Linked DNA regions of Homo sapiens: regions 2, 3 and 4 are each linked to region 1. The links are contacts of gene promoters, found by promoter capture Hi-C in blood cells and fetal thymus (Javierre and others, 2016). All regions are on one chromosome and are shown on one strand. The core of a region is centred on a gene start or on the middle of the fragment in contact, and the rest is flanking DNA. Distances in the headings are between cores, read along the strand shown. Region 1 holds the start of LRRC73 (leucine rich repeat containing 73). Region 2 holds the start of SLC22A7 (solute carrier family 22 member 7). Region 3 has its middle 8.3 kb from the start of CRIP3. Region 4 overlaps ZNF318 (zinc finger protein 318).

The links. Contacts are between HindIII fragments. The CHiCAGO score rates a contact against its expected background, and 5 or more counts as called.
Region 2: a contact is called between the fragment with the promoter of SLC22A7 here and the fragment with the promoter of LRRC73 in region 1, in 1 of 17 cell types (endothelial precursors). The highest score is 5.5, in endothelial precursors.
Region 3: a contact is called between a fragment that was not itself captured here and the fragment with the promoter of LRRC73 in region 1, in 2 of 17 cell types (endothelial precursors and naive B cells). The highest score is 5.5, in endothelial precursors.
Region 4: a contact is called between a fragment that was not itself captured here and the fragment with the promoter of LRRC73 in region 1, in 1 of 17 cell types (endothelial precursors). The highest score is 5.3, in endothelial precursors.

Annotation. Positions count from the first base shown.
Region 1 is chr6:43,508,951-43,511,964 of GRCh38, reverse strand. It overlaps LRRC73 (leucine rich repeat containing 73), which reads left to right and starts at 1,619. Exons shown (of 6, transcript NM_001012974.4): 1 at 1,619-2,451. The coding sequence starts at 2,180. It overlaps YIPF3 (Yip1 domain family member 3), which reads left to right. Exons shown (of 9, transcript NM_015388.4): 9 at 1-133. RefSeq lists silencers at 1,462-1,751, 1,772-2,041. The HindIII fragment of the contact is 9,076 bases long and covers 1-3,014 here.
Region 2 is chr6:43,296,830-43,299,843 of GRCh38, reverse strand. SLC22A7 (solute carrier family 22 member 7) reads right to left here and starts at 1,584. Exons shown (of 11, transcript NM_153320.2): 1 at 1,093-1,584; 2 at 747-752; 3 at 351-454; 4 at 63-217. The coding sequence starts at 1,485. It overlaps LOC124901319 (a long non-coding RNA gene), which reads left to right. Exons shown (of 2, transcript XR_007059582.1): 2 at 28-902. The HindIII fragment of the contact is 22,683 bases long and covers 1-3,014 here.
Region 3 is chr6:43,315,596-43,318,609 of GRCh38, reverse strand. No RefSeq gene overlaps it. Among named protein-coding and RNA genes, the nearest start is that of CRIP3, 8.3 kb to the right of the region's middle. The HindIII fragment of the contact is 699 bases long and covers 1,088-1,786 here.
Region 4 is chr6:43,361,427-43,364,440 of GRCh38, reverse strand. The region is part of intron 2 of ZNF318 (zinc finger protein 318); the gene reads left to right. It also overlaps the pseudogene RPS2P28. Among named protein-coding and RNA genes, the nearest start is that of ZNF318, 6.7 kb to the left of the region's middle. The HindIII fragment of the contact is 768 bases long and covers 1,065-1,832 here.

The DNA of each region.
Region 1 (3,014 bases), core at 370-2,869:
TGCAGCCAATGCAGAAAATGGGTCAGCTCCTTTGAGAACCCCTCCCCACCTACCCCTTCCTTCCTCTTTATCTCTCCCACATTGTCTTGCTAAATATAGACTTGGTAATTAAAATGTTGATTGAAGTCTGGAACTGCAGCGGCTGATCCAGTGGTCCTCCCTGTCATCCCGCTTCCTATATACTTTCCTACTCAGTCAACAGTGGTAATGTCATATGTTCCCTTCTTCATATCCTCACCCAGGCAAGATAAAGGTGGGACAGGCCAGACTACATAGAAGGCAGTGATTGAATATCACACCTGACCCATGAAGCGGCAGGGAGGCCTCAAGCACAAAAGCCATAAGCCTGATGGAACACTGCAGCCAGCTTGAGTCTGGGCTCAGCTGCTCTCTTGGGAAGCCAAGGAAGCAGTGACAATTGAACAAAACATCCCGACTTAAACCCCGTGTCAAAACAAGGATCTTCTGCACCTGGGCATTGTGTTGATAATTTTCCTGTGGAGCTCTTAATTGAAGCCAAATTTGGCTTTGCCTTGGTGGTACTGGGGCCAGCTCCTTTTAGTTTTTCTGTCTTTCCTCTTAAAACCAACCACCACTCCTAACATAGCACCATCCACCCCCACCACCTCTTTAATATGCTCCACTTAATAAGTTAATTCAGGTGGCTAAGAGTGGGAATAGGGCCTTTGACCTCCCTTCACTATATTGAATATTATATTTTATGTAAAATAATCATCTTAACACTAGTAAATCTGGGTCAGCAGCATCTATCCCTCCTAACAAAGGGACAAACAGAGGTGCCCTTCATTTGTCCTGCGTTACACAAGTGAGTCCCCCACCACCCTGGCCAGAGGACAAAGTTGAGACAGCACCGCCTGCACCGTGCAGTGTGGCTCAGCCGCCTTCACGTCCTCACCAGTGCTCCAGGGCCCTGGCCCTGGCACCTTCTTTGTATTGGCTGCCCCAGTCTCGCGGCACGGACACACCCTCAGATGTCAACAGTGCCCTGCGTACCTGAGAAGGTGTGGCACCAGGACCTTGCATCTATCTGAGGCTCCCCTGCCCTAGGGACCCTATGGGGTACCCTTCTCCCCAGCAGCTCAAGCTGGCTCTGCCCAGCCGTGGCCCCTGGGGCCTCCCTGATGAGGCCGCCATCTTGGCGAGGAGCAAGCGGGGAAGTCCCCATGGGCCGGGATCACCACGCACGCTGCGCCTCGAGTCACGGGGGCGGGAGCGAGGCGCGGCGCGGATGAAAGGGCCCTGGGGCCTTCCAAATAGGAGGGAACAGTGCCCTGGATTCCGGCGGGGGTATGGACCTTAGGAACGGGGAAGGATGGAAGAATGGGCAGAAGCAGCAGTAACCGTGCCCAACGCCATCTCCACGGGGCGTGCCTCCATTCCGCTCCCCGTCAGCCCTACCCACTCAGCCCTGCCGCCTGCCGCCTGCCAGTTGGCTGACCCCACTCCCAAGGGAAGAGCGGCCTATCGCTCCCAGCTCCTTGCCCCGAACCACCCAGTGTACGCGAACCTCGCGGGCCGGCGTGGCCTTGGCCGGGCAGGGGGCGGGGCGAGCGCCGGTGACGCGGCCGTTGCCATGGGAACTCGCCGCCCGCTCGCTCTCTGGAGCTGGAGCCGGAGCTGCCGCCAGCCGCCCGCCTCAGGCTCTCTCTGCCAGCCGTGCGGCCAGGCCCGCGGGGTGGTCGGGGGGAGCCGGGCGGCAGAGAAGGAGGGAGCGGGTACGGCCTCCTAGCCGAGACCGGTAAGCCGAAGCCCTTGAGCCGCTCGCTGCCGCTGCCGCCGCCGCCGCCGCGACCGCGAGGGACAAGGACAAGCGCCGAGCAGCGCCTGCCCAACCCCCGGAACGCGCACCCGCCCCAACGCCCAGACACGGACCGTGCGGGCCGCCCCCGCCCCAGCGCCGCCCCACTTCAGCCCGGCCCGCGCCCTGGACGCCTCCGCACCTCTGGCCGGCTCCGGCTCAGTCCCGGTAGCTCTTCTCCGCCCCCGCCGCAGCCTCCGCCGCAGCCGCAGCCTCCGCCACAGCCGCCGCCTCCACCCCCGGCCCCACTCCGCCCGCGACCCCTGCCGGGGCCCCGACCCCGGCCCTATCCCCGGCCCCGCCCGCGGCCCCACCAACCTCCGTTCCGGCCCCGTACCCGGAGGCCCAGCCGTGGGCACGATGCTGCCCAGCTCCATCCAGATTTCGGGGGAGCCGCTGTCCGGCGCCGAGGTGCGGGACATCTGCCGCGGCCTTCGCGACAACGCCGTGCGCCTGCTCTCACTGCGCGGCTGCCGCCTCTGCGACCGCGACTTTGGCCGCATCTGCCGGGCCCTGGCCGGGGCCACGTCCCTGGCGCAGCTCAACCTTAACCTGGGCGTCGTGTCCAGCCCCAGCCGCATCAAGCAGCTGGCTGAGGCTCTGCGGACCAACCGCTCCATCCAGTCCCTCTTGTGAGTGCGCCCCCTCGCAAGGGGGTCCCGGGCACTGCACCCTTCCATACACTCCCCTGGCACCTCCTGTTCCTCCACACTCCTTCCAGTACCATCCTACCTTCACATGCCTTATGCACATACACCGTGCCTCGGCCCATGCCTTCACAGCACCCTCCAAGCACATGCTTGGACTTTGCACGCGCGACCCTAGCCGTGTTGGGATACCCACCAGTTCCTGACATGAGGTGGGGGCCGTACCTCCCCACCTAATCATCTGCATTTACTTCACTGGGGCAGCTCCTTGGTTCCCAAGGGGGAATATCCCCGTGGGGACGAGAGCCCTGCCCACTGCAGAGTTCCGGTCCACCACCCACCCACCCCTTCTCTGCCCCTCCCTGTGCAATGTCCTGGATCCCTGCCCCAGAAAACAAACCGAATTCTCCCTCTATCTGTATTCCCTGAGAATCTAGAACTTTCCTTCTCCTTTTCCAGGCCTCTCAAGCGCTGTGACTGCCCTCCCCATACCTAGGGCTGACAGAAGTGAAAGTGCCCCTTTCCCATGTAGATAGTGCGGAGGACTG
Region 2 (3,014 bases), core at 335-2,834, 210 kb after region 1:
CTCACTCTGACAACTGCCTTCTTCCAGCCCTCTAGGTCCTGCCTGTTTCTTGCCTGCCTCACCCAGTGGCATCACGATGATGGTAAAACCAGCCAGGGCTGAGCCAGTAAGGGTGCGGGTGATGGCAAACATTACATAGCTGACGGAGGCTGCAGATGCCAGGCCCAGCACCAGGGTACTCACGTAGGCTACCAGCAGCAGACGCCGCCGCCCAAACCTGCAAAGGGGTCATGCAGGGTCAGTTCCCTGTGGAAGGAGGTTCTAAGGCATAGGTAGACTAGGCTCATACCCCAGCTAGTGGGAGAAAGTTCCCCCAGCCAGTTTCTTATTGGCCCAGTGCCTCACCCCACCTGTCGGACAGATATCCAAAGGCCACAGCCCCCACCAGCACACCGGCGAAGAAGAAAGTGGACGCAGCTCTGTTCAGACCTTTCTGCTCACACACCAGATCCCACTGCAAGGACAGGCAGAAAGGGACCTCCTATGAACATCAGCCCCTCTCCAGCAGGCACCAGCTCCTCCTCTCCAGACCCTGGAGCCTTCTGAGGCGAACTCTGCCATTCTGGTACCTCCATGCCAGATAATAAACCTCCCAACGATTCACGCCAGCTTGGGGAATAGGAAACTTTGTCCCTCCCCAGTCCTGCAGCCTCAGCTTCTTCCCAAGGAAGGCCTCGACCTGCTGCCTCCCAGGGAGACTGCCTCCACCGACATTCCACCTCCAGATGGATTATGTAAATACCGACCTGGGACTGGAAAAGAGGAAGGGAGAAAAGAAGGCCTCTATTGTTTCTCCACCTCTTGCTGCAGAAATTGCCTTCTCAGCTCTTTGTCTCAACTCCCTGAAGCCACTTTAGCCCTTCCCTGCCTTAATCACCTCCCAATTAATGATGATGATAACAGTTCTTGTGTAGGATCCTGTTACTACAAGCCATGAACTAAAAGTGCCTTATATTCATAGCCCCCATCTACAGATTGGTAAACTGAGACTTTAAGAGGTAAAGTAATACATCTAATGCCTACACAGTAACCACCCAAGGCAATGGCAGGCCCATCCCTCTCACATGTCTCTCAACTTCTGGGCTTAAGTACCTCAGTTGCAATGGTAGAGGAGAATTCTGAGTGGTCGTACTCCCAGCCCTGAGAGCAGGGCACTGTGGCAGGTTCATCCTCCAGCTCCCCACGGCTCTGCCTTTCTTCCCCCAACGTGGTGTTGGGGAGAGCCTGGGGATAGGCAAAGCGGAGGCAGGAGCTGAGCGTGCCATCAGGCTCCCGGGGAAGATGGGCCTCCAGCCACACATCCTGATGGCTGAAGTTGGCAGGGGCACCCGGCAGGGCACATCGGTGGGCAGGCACGGCAGCCAGGAAGATGGGCAGGAGGAAGTGCAGTGGTAGCAGCACTCGGGGCAGGGCCAGCAGTGCCACATTCCGCAGTTGGAAGGGCCCAAAGCCGCCCACCTGCTCCAGCAGCTCCTCAAAGCCCATGCTGCTCACCCACCAAATGCTTCAGGTGCAGCCTCCCTCTAGTATCCAGCCAGCTCAAACTGCCCACCACATAGACCCTTGGACTCTGGAGGTGGGAGTGGATGGACTGGAGAGCCTGCAGCCAGAATCCAGCCCTCAGGGGCTGGCCCAGGACTGGGCCCTCCCCAGCCATCAGGTCTCCAGGGACCTCTACCTGTCTTGCCTGGTGCCTGGGGGAAGGGGAAGCCATCCATTCAGAGGTCACTGGCTCGTGGCTCTGGGGCTTACCCATTAGTGTTCAGGGACCAAGGCTACCATGATGAGGTAGCTGGGTGATGGCATAGGAGGTGAGCCCCTAGCCCCTTGGTCAGCAGAGCTCCCAGGATCCCTAAGAAGAGGAGGCCCCTGGGGCCTGGGGCCAGCTCTCCCAGGGTGCCCTTTGTCCTGTGAGACCTTAGGTCAGCCTTGCCTATTTGCAGCTACAGCCATGGCCTGGCCGACAGCCCAGGATTCAGGACTGAAAGCTGGATCCTAACCAGGTTTCTTTCTGCTGAGCCATGAGGCCTCCTCGCATCCCTCTCCCCTGCTGGGAGCTGATGCCCTGGCCTAAGACACACCTGTGATCACACCGGGCAACTTGATGTCTCTGAGGATCCCAGGCTCATCCCATTCCCACTTCACTCAGGGACTCTCCCCATACATATGGTTCCAACTGCCTGTCCCATTCCCCTATTTCCAGCAGCTTCCTAAATTACCTTTTGGAGGGATAGGGAATGGCGGGGGACATGTTGCCAAGGTACCTGCAATGCCTAAGATTACCTTTTGGAGGGGTAGGGAATGGGGGAGGGGGAGTTACCAAGGTCTTGTCAAAGGTACATGCAATACCTAAGACTCAAATGTTCAATCTGACCCTCCCACTCAATTCTCAATCATGGTCCCTGCAGCAAAAGTACAGCAGAAACCAGCAATGTCTGGTTTATTCTCATCTGATTCTCCAAACACTTAGCTGGCAGACCCACTGGTTTAATCCAGCTCCTACTTTGAACAGGTCAGAAAACTAAAGACAGGGAGGGGACCTGCTGGGGTCACACAATGACTCAGCAGCAGAGCTGAAGAAAAGACCAGGTCCCCTGACTCCAGACCAGGAATCTCACTTTTGACCTAAGCTGCTGAGCTGGTGATGTCCCAGTCTGCTCCAGGCTGGGATCCCTGAGAAAGCGCTGGGAAAGGAGCTAAATCGATGGCATGGCGTGTGTTAATGGGGGTGCTGACAGCCATGGAGTGAAGCAAGAGGCAGCTAATGGTGGTGGCAGTGACAGGGGGTGACAATGAGAAGAAATGTTTGAGTCTCTAGTGCATCCTCGCCATTCTAGAGGGTACATAGATGCCTCAGACACGGTCCCTACCCTTAGGGAGCTTACAGGAGGGTTAAAATAAGCTAACCCTCCCTGTCTCCAGTCTCACCCCTTTCAACCCATTCTCCATACACTGGCCACAGTGAACATTTAAACACAAATCTAAGAGGGTCACATCCCTGTTTAAAACCCTTC
Region 3 (3,014 bases), core at 188-2,687, 190 kb after region 1:
GCTTCAAAGTAGAAAATAAAAATATAAAGCTACAAAGGTTCAGTGCCTTCTTTGTAGACTTTCTCTTTATGGCTTTTATCAAAAGATCAGTGTTCAGTTTCTTGTCTCCACTAAGATGCTGCCTTCTTTTTTGGTAATAGGAGGGTAGAAATTACAAATAAGCGCTTTATAGCTCTGCCTGTTCCAAAAGCCCAGGAGAAGAAGAGGAAAAGCCCAATCATTTTGGATTTGGGAAGAGGGTGGAATTTGACTCCTGATTCTGTGACCTTGAGCTTCATAGAGGAAATGAAAGACTCCTCTATGGAAAGGTAAGCATTTGCATTTGTATGAATCACAAGATTAAACTGTTTTAGCCTCATTAACATAGCATTAACATAGTCTCATGACCTGTAAGGACTATTTTTGTATATTATTTAAAAATTACCCTCCAGACCTTAGCATGAAGATGAGGAAGTTACTAGGACTTTACGCCAACTCCACGGAGCATTGCCACCATCTATCAGATTTATAAGCAAGCTGACTACCAAGTTTCACTTCTTTCTATTCCTCCTCAGTTTCCAGCATATGGATACATTTTTCATGCTGCAAATTATTTGTAGGTAGTTATTTTTATATATTTTCAGATGAAATACACATTTCTAAGTGAATACTTGAAAAGCCAAATCCATCTTTGCATGAAAAACCATCGTTTAAAGATGTTATTGATTTCTTCGCAAACATAGGTTGAAGGCACTCATGGCAAAGGTTTAGGGTGTCCTTTCCTGCAGTCTTGATTCTGAATTAGTCTAGTTGATGCCACTGAATCACAAAATGTAGCCTACTCAATATCCCTAAGCAGCTAACCACTATTAGCTTTATACAGAGTACTCTCAACAGGTTCATGTAATGGCAAGATGATGCTGGAAAATGAGGGGGAAAAAAATTAAACAGACTCTTGCTAGAGCCATAAATGATGTTTATAACTATACAGCAGCAGTTCTCTGTGGGTGGGGTGATTAGTATGTTTTAAGAAAGCAAATTCAGTCTTTTTTTGTTTTGTGTGTGTTTCCCTTTTTAAAAAGTAATATAAACTACAGAAAGTAAAGCTTTGTAGTTGGAGCAGACATGCAGAAGATGCAATGAGAAAGCAAAAGGTTTATGGGTAGTAAGGATTAAGAAACACAACTATAAAGAAATAAGACTGATTTTTCATTAACTTACCAGAACTGAGTGATTTCCCTTTCAAAAGAGTTATCTAAGAACAAAGTTCTGGGTAATGCCTTAAAAGTCACAGGCATGGCCGGGCACAGTGGCTCACGCCTGTAATCCCAGCACTTTGGGAGGTCAAGGTGGGCAGATCACAAGGTCAGGAGTTCAAGACCAGCCTGGCCAACAAAGTGAAACCCCATCTGTACTAAAGATACAAAAAATTAGCCAGGCATGGTGGTGCATGCCTGTAATCCCAGCTACTTGGGAGGCTGAGGCAGGAGAATTGCTTGAACCCGGGAGGCAGAGGTTGCAGCCAGCCAAGATCACGCCATTGCACTCCAGCCTGGGTTACAGGGTGTGTCTCTGTCTCAAAAAAAAAAAAAAGTCACAGGCATATGACCATGTACTTGAACAAGCCTACAAAGACATAAATGGGTGGAGTTTGTTGTTGTAATCAAATTCACTGCAAAGCTAACCTGACACATAATAGCAGCCTTATTTATAAGGTTGCTTTATAGTTTACATAACACTTCCCCACATTCTCTTATTTGCCACATAATTAATGATAGACATAATTGTGCCACATGCTAATTAAGCTTAATTAGTAAGTTCTTATGAATGACTACAATTGGTGGGACTTGTTTGCTACCAAAAGCAAATTTTCAGTTCTCTATTTACTTAATTAGTTACCTACTATTTATAATCAGGATCAGTTAAGTTATATTTTCTGTTTTGTATCATACATGTTGATCCTCATGTATATTGAGAAACAAAACTCCTGGCGGGGCACAGTGACTCACAGCGCTTTGGGAAGCCAAGGCAGGAGGATCTTTTCAGGCCAGGAGTTCAAGACTAGCCTGGGCAACGTAGTGGAACCCCATCTCTACAAAAAATAAAAAATTAGCGAGGTACAGTGGCACATGGCTGTAGTCCTAGCTACTTAGGAGACTGATGGGGGGATTGCTTGAGCCCAGGAGTTCCAGGTTACAGTGAGCTGTGACCTGTACTCCAGCCTGGGTGACAGAGCAAGATCCTGTCTCTTGAAGGAAAAAAGGAAACAAATTCCTGAGACCTTATTCCTAGGCAGCTGAACTTCCTTCACTCCAGGACACTCGTTGTTACCAACTCTCAACCTCTACCAGTCCCCTCTTATTCCCACATCTCTCACTAGCACTCATCTATCACACTCAGGGGGACTTGTATATAACATGTAACATTCATTCACCAGCAAGTATTTGTTGAGCACTATGTGCCAGAGATTTGAGCAAGGCACTGGAAATATATGCAATGGTTGGCAAAGCAGCCTGGTCCCTGCTCTCATGGATCTCACAGACTAAGGGGGCAGACAAAGCCCAGATTGGAGTGGAGGAGGTAGGCAGGAAGTTACCATATTTATTTCACTTTCTAAACTACAACCTGTCCTTTATCAATAATAAAGATGATGGGCTGGGTGGTGGCTCATGTCTGTAATCCCAGCACTTTGAGAGGCCAAGGTGAGTGGATCACTTGAAGTCAAAAGTCCAAGACCAGCCTGGCCAACATGGTGAAACCTTGTCTCTACTAAAAATACAAAAATTAGCCGGGCATGGTGGCACACTCCTGTAATCCCAGCTACTAGGGAGGCTGGGGCAGGAGAATTACTTGAACCTGGGAGGCAGAGATTGCAGTGAGCTGAGATCATGCCACTGCACTCCAGCCTGGGCAACAGAATGAGACTGTCTCAAAATAGTAATAATAATAATAATAAAGGATCTCTGTTTGTCTTTTATTTCTTATTTGGTTCAGCACTCAGGGAAAACACAGCTGTCATAGTTTGGGCCCCCTCT
Region 4 (3,014 bases), core at 199-2,698, 150 kb after region 1:
GCTGGGCAGGAAGTCTGAGGACCAGTTTTGCCGTTGGTAATACCTAAAAGTTCCATTGGCTGTGGATGCAGTGAAGCAAGGCAGAACAGTCTTTTTTTTTTTTTTTTTTCAGGCTTAATTCACTTTATATTTCTTGTATAAAAACCCTATGTTGTAGCCACAGCTGGAGCCTACGTCCTCTGCACAGAGACTCTGGTGTGTGTCTTGATGAGGTGGTCAGTGAATTCCTGATAGGGAGACTTGGTGAATCCTGTCTCCTTCCAGAGGTCGGGGGTCAGGTAGCTGTAGGTCTTAGAGATGGCATCAAAGGTGGCCTTGGCGAAGTTGCCCAGGGTGGCAGTGCAGCCCCTGGCTGAGGTGTAGCAGTCATCAATACCAGCCATCATGAGCAGCTTCTTGGGCACGGGCTGAGACGATGCCAGTGCCCTTGGGCGCAGGGATGAGGTGCACCAGCACAGAGCCGCAGTAGCCTGTCACCTTGCAAGGAACGGTGTGGGGCTTGTGGATCTTGTTCCCCCAGTAGCCTCTGTGCACAGGGAGAATGGAGAGCTTGGCCAGGATGATGGCCCCGCAGGTGGCAGTGGCCACCTCCTTGGAGCACTTAACACCCAGACCGACGTGGCCATTGTAGTCCCCGATGGCAACAAACGCCTTGAACCTTTTCAACTGGCCAGTGTGGGTCTGCTTCTGCACTGGCATAATCTTCAACACCTCATCCTTGAGAGAGGCCCCCAGGAAAAAGTCAGTGATCTCAGATTCCTTGATGGGCAGGAAGAAGAGGTAGTTCTCCAGGGACTTGATCTTTATGTCCTTAACCAAGCAGCCCAGCTTGGTGACAGGCATCCACTCCTTATCCTTGGCCTTGCCTCCACGAGCTCCGTGGCCTCAGCCCTGTCCACAGCTGCAACCCCAGCCCCTCCATGGAAGCCACCACGGTTTCCCATCCCAGGGCCCCCGGGGCCTCTGCCCCCGCCCCACCCCCTCCACCGACATCATCTGCCATTTGGTGTTTTCTCAGAGAAGAAGCAAGGCAAAATAGTCTTATGTCATATAACATTGAAGCTTCTAAAGGGCTTCAAGATATGTGACTGTATCACTTAATTGAGGCAATAGCCCTTGCTCTTCTGGCTGCTTCTGTTTGGGGAAATTATTGAGTAGGTAGTCTGGGTAGGTGGTACATAGTGTGATTGTCTTCATTCTTTGCTGAGGTTTTGAGTTAGCTTCAGCAGTTCTTCTTAGGCCTAGGATGTCACTTCCCCTTTGCATAAACTTTGTTATGCACATGTGCTTCAGATAGAACTAATTATATTTTTAAATTACAAAAATTAAAATTTTTCCTCTTAAGGAGTTTGGGGCAGCAGTCTTCTTTGTAGAATCATGTGTTTCAGAGGCACAGGTCTACTTTAGAGAAAGTGAGATTAAGGTTCTAAACAAAGATACAAGGCCATTTAAAAAATACTGTTGCCCCCTACACATTTCTCTTCTTTCCCTTTTGTTCAGTATGGTTTGTGTGGATAATTACTGTCCACTAAAACCAGGCCACAGGACCATTGGCATACTCAGGTTGTCTCCTGACAGTGAGTCTAGTCTTCAACCAATGATACAGGCCATTTATATCCTTTGTATGTAGATGTTTGGGCCTGGCGCAGTGGCTCATACCTGTAATCCCAGCACTTTGGGAGGCTGAGGTGGGCCAATCACTTGAGGTCAGGAGTTCGAGACCATCCTGGCCAACATGATGAGATCCTGTCTCTACCAAAAATACAAAAATTACCCAGTGGTGGCGCATGCCTGTAGTCTTAGCTACTCCAGAGGCTGAGGCAGGAGAAGCTTGAACCTGGGAGGCAGAGTTTGCAGTGAGCCCAGATTGTGCCACTGCACAGAACAAGACTCTGTCTCAAAAAAAAAAAAAAAAAAAAAAAGACGTGTATGTAGATGTTTATTTTTTAAAAATTCATTTATTTTTTTATTTTTATTTATTTATTTTTTGAGACAGAGTCTTGCACTGTTGCCTGGCTGGAGTGCAATGCTGCAATCTCGGCTCACTGCAACCTCCGCCTCCCAGGTTCTAGCAATTCTCCTGCCTCAGCCTCCTGAGTAGCTGGGATTACAGGTGCGGACTACCATGCCAGGCTAATTTTTTGTATTTTTAGTAGAGATGCGGTTTCTTTGGCCAGGCTGGTCTCGAACTGACCTCGTGATCCGTCCACCTTGGCCTCCCAAAGTGCTGGGATTACAGGTGTGAGCCACCGCGCCTGGCCCCTTTTAAATTTATTTTTAAGAGACAGGGTCTCACTCTTGTCACCCAGGCTGGAGTGCAGTGGCACGATCATAGCTTAGTGTAGCCTCTAACTCCTGGGTTCAAGTGATTCTCCTGCCTCAGCCTCCCAAGTAGCTAGGAATACAGGCACACACCACCCGACGCCCAGCTAATTTTTCAAATTTTTGTAGAGATGGGGTTCTCACTGTGTTGCCTAGGCTGGTTTCAAACTCCTGAGCTCAAGTGACCCTCCTGCCTCAGCCTCCCAAAGTGATGGGATTGCAGGCATGAGCCACCATGCCTGGCCAGATGTTTGTTTATTTTTTTTCTGAGACTCTAGTAGTCTTTCTCTTCCTTTATTGAATCTGTTAAGTTTTATATCAGGTTTGGATGATAGCCAAGTTGGGTTTTAGTGTCTTCACCTTAGCAGCCCTGTATGTAGGACTGTAATTCTACTCAAAAGGGAACATGAAAGGTAATGTGAAAAATTCTAAAACACTTGGCTTCTAAAGACTTGTGGATGTTAGGTTGATTTCTCCTGTTCATCAAAGTAATTTGCACATTTAATGTTCCATTCATGGAGCTATTTATTTAAAAAAAATTATTAACTTTTTAAAAGACAATGTCTTGCTCTGTTGCCCAGCCTGGAGTGCAGTGGCGTGATCATAGTTCACTGTAACCTCAAACTCCTGGGCTCAAGTGGTCCTCCCAGCTCAGTCTAAAGAGTAGCTAGGACTATGGGCTGCACTGCCAC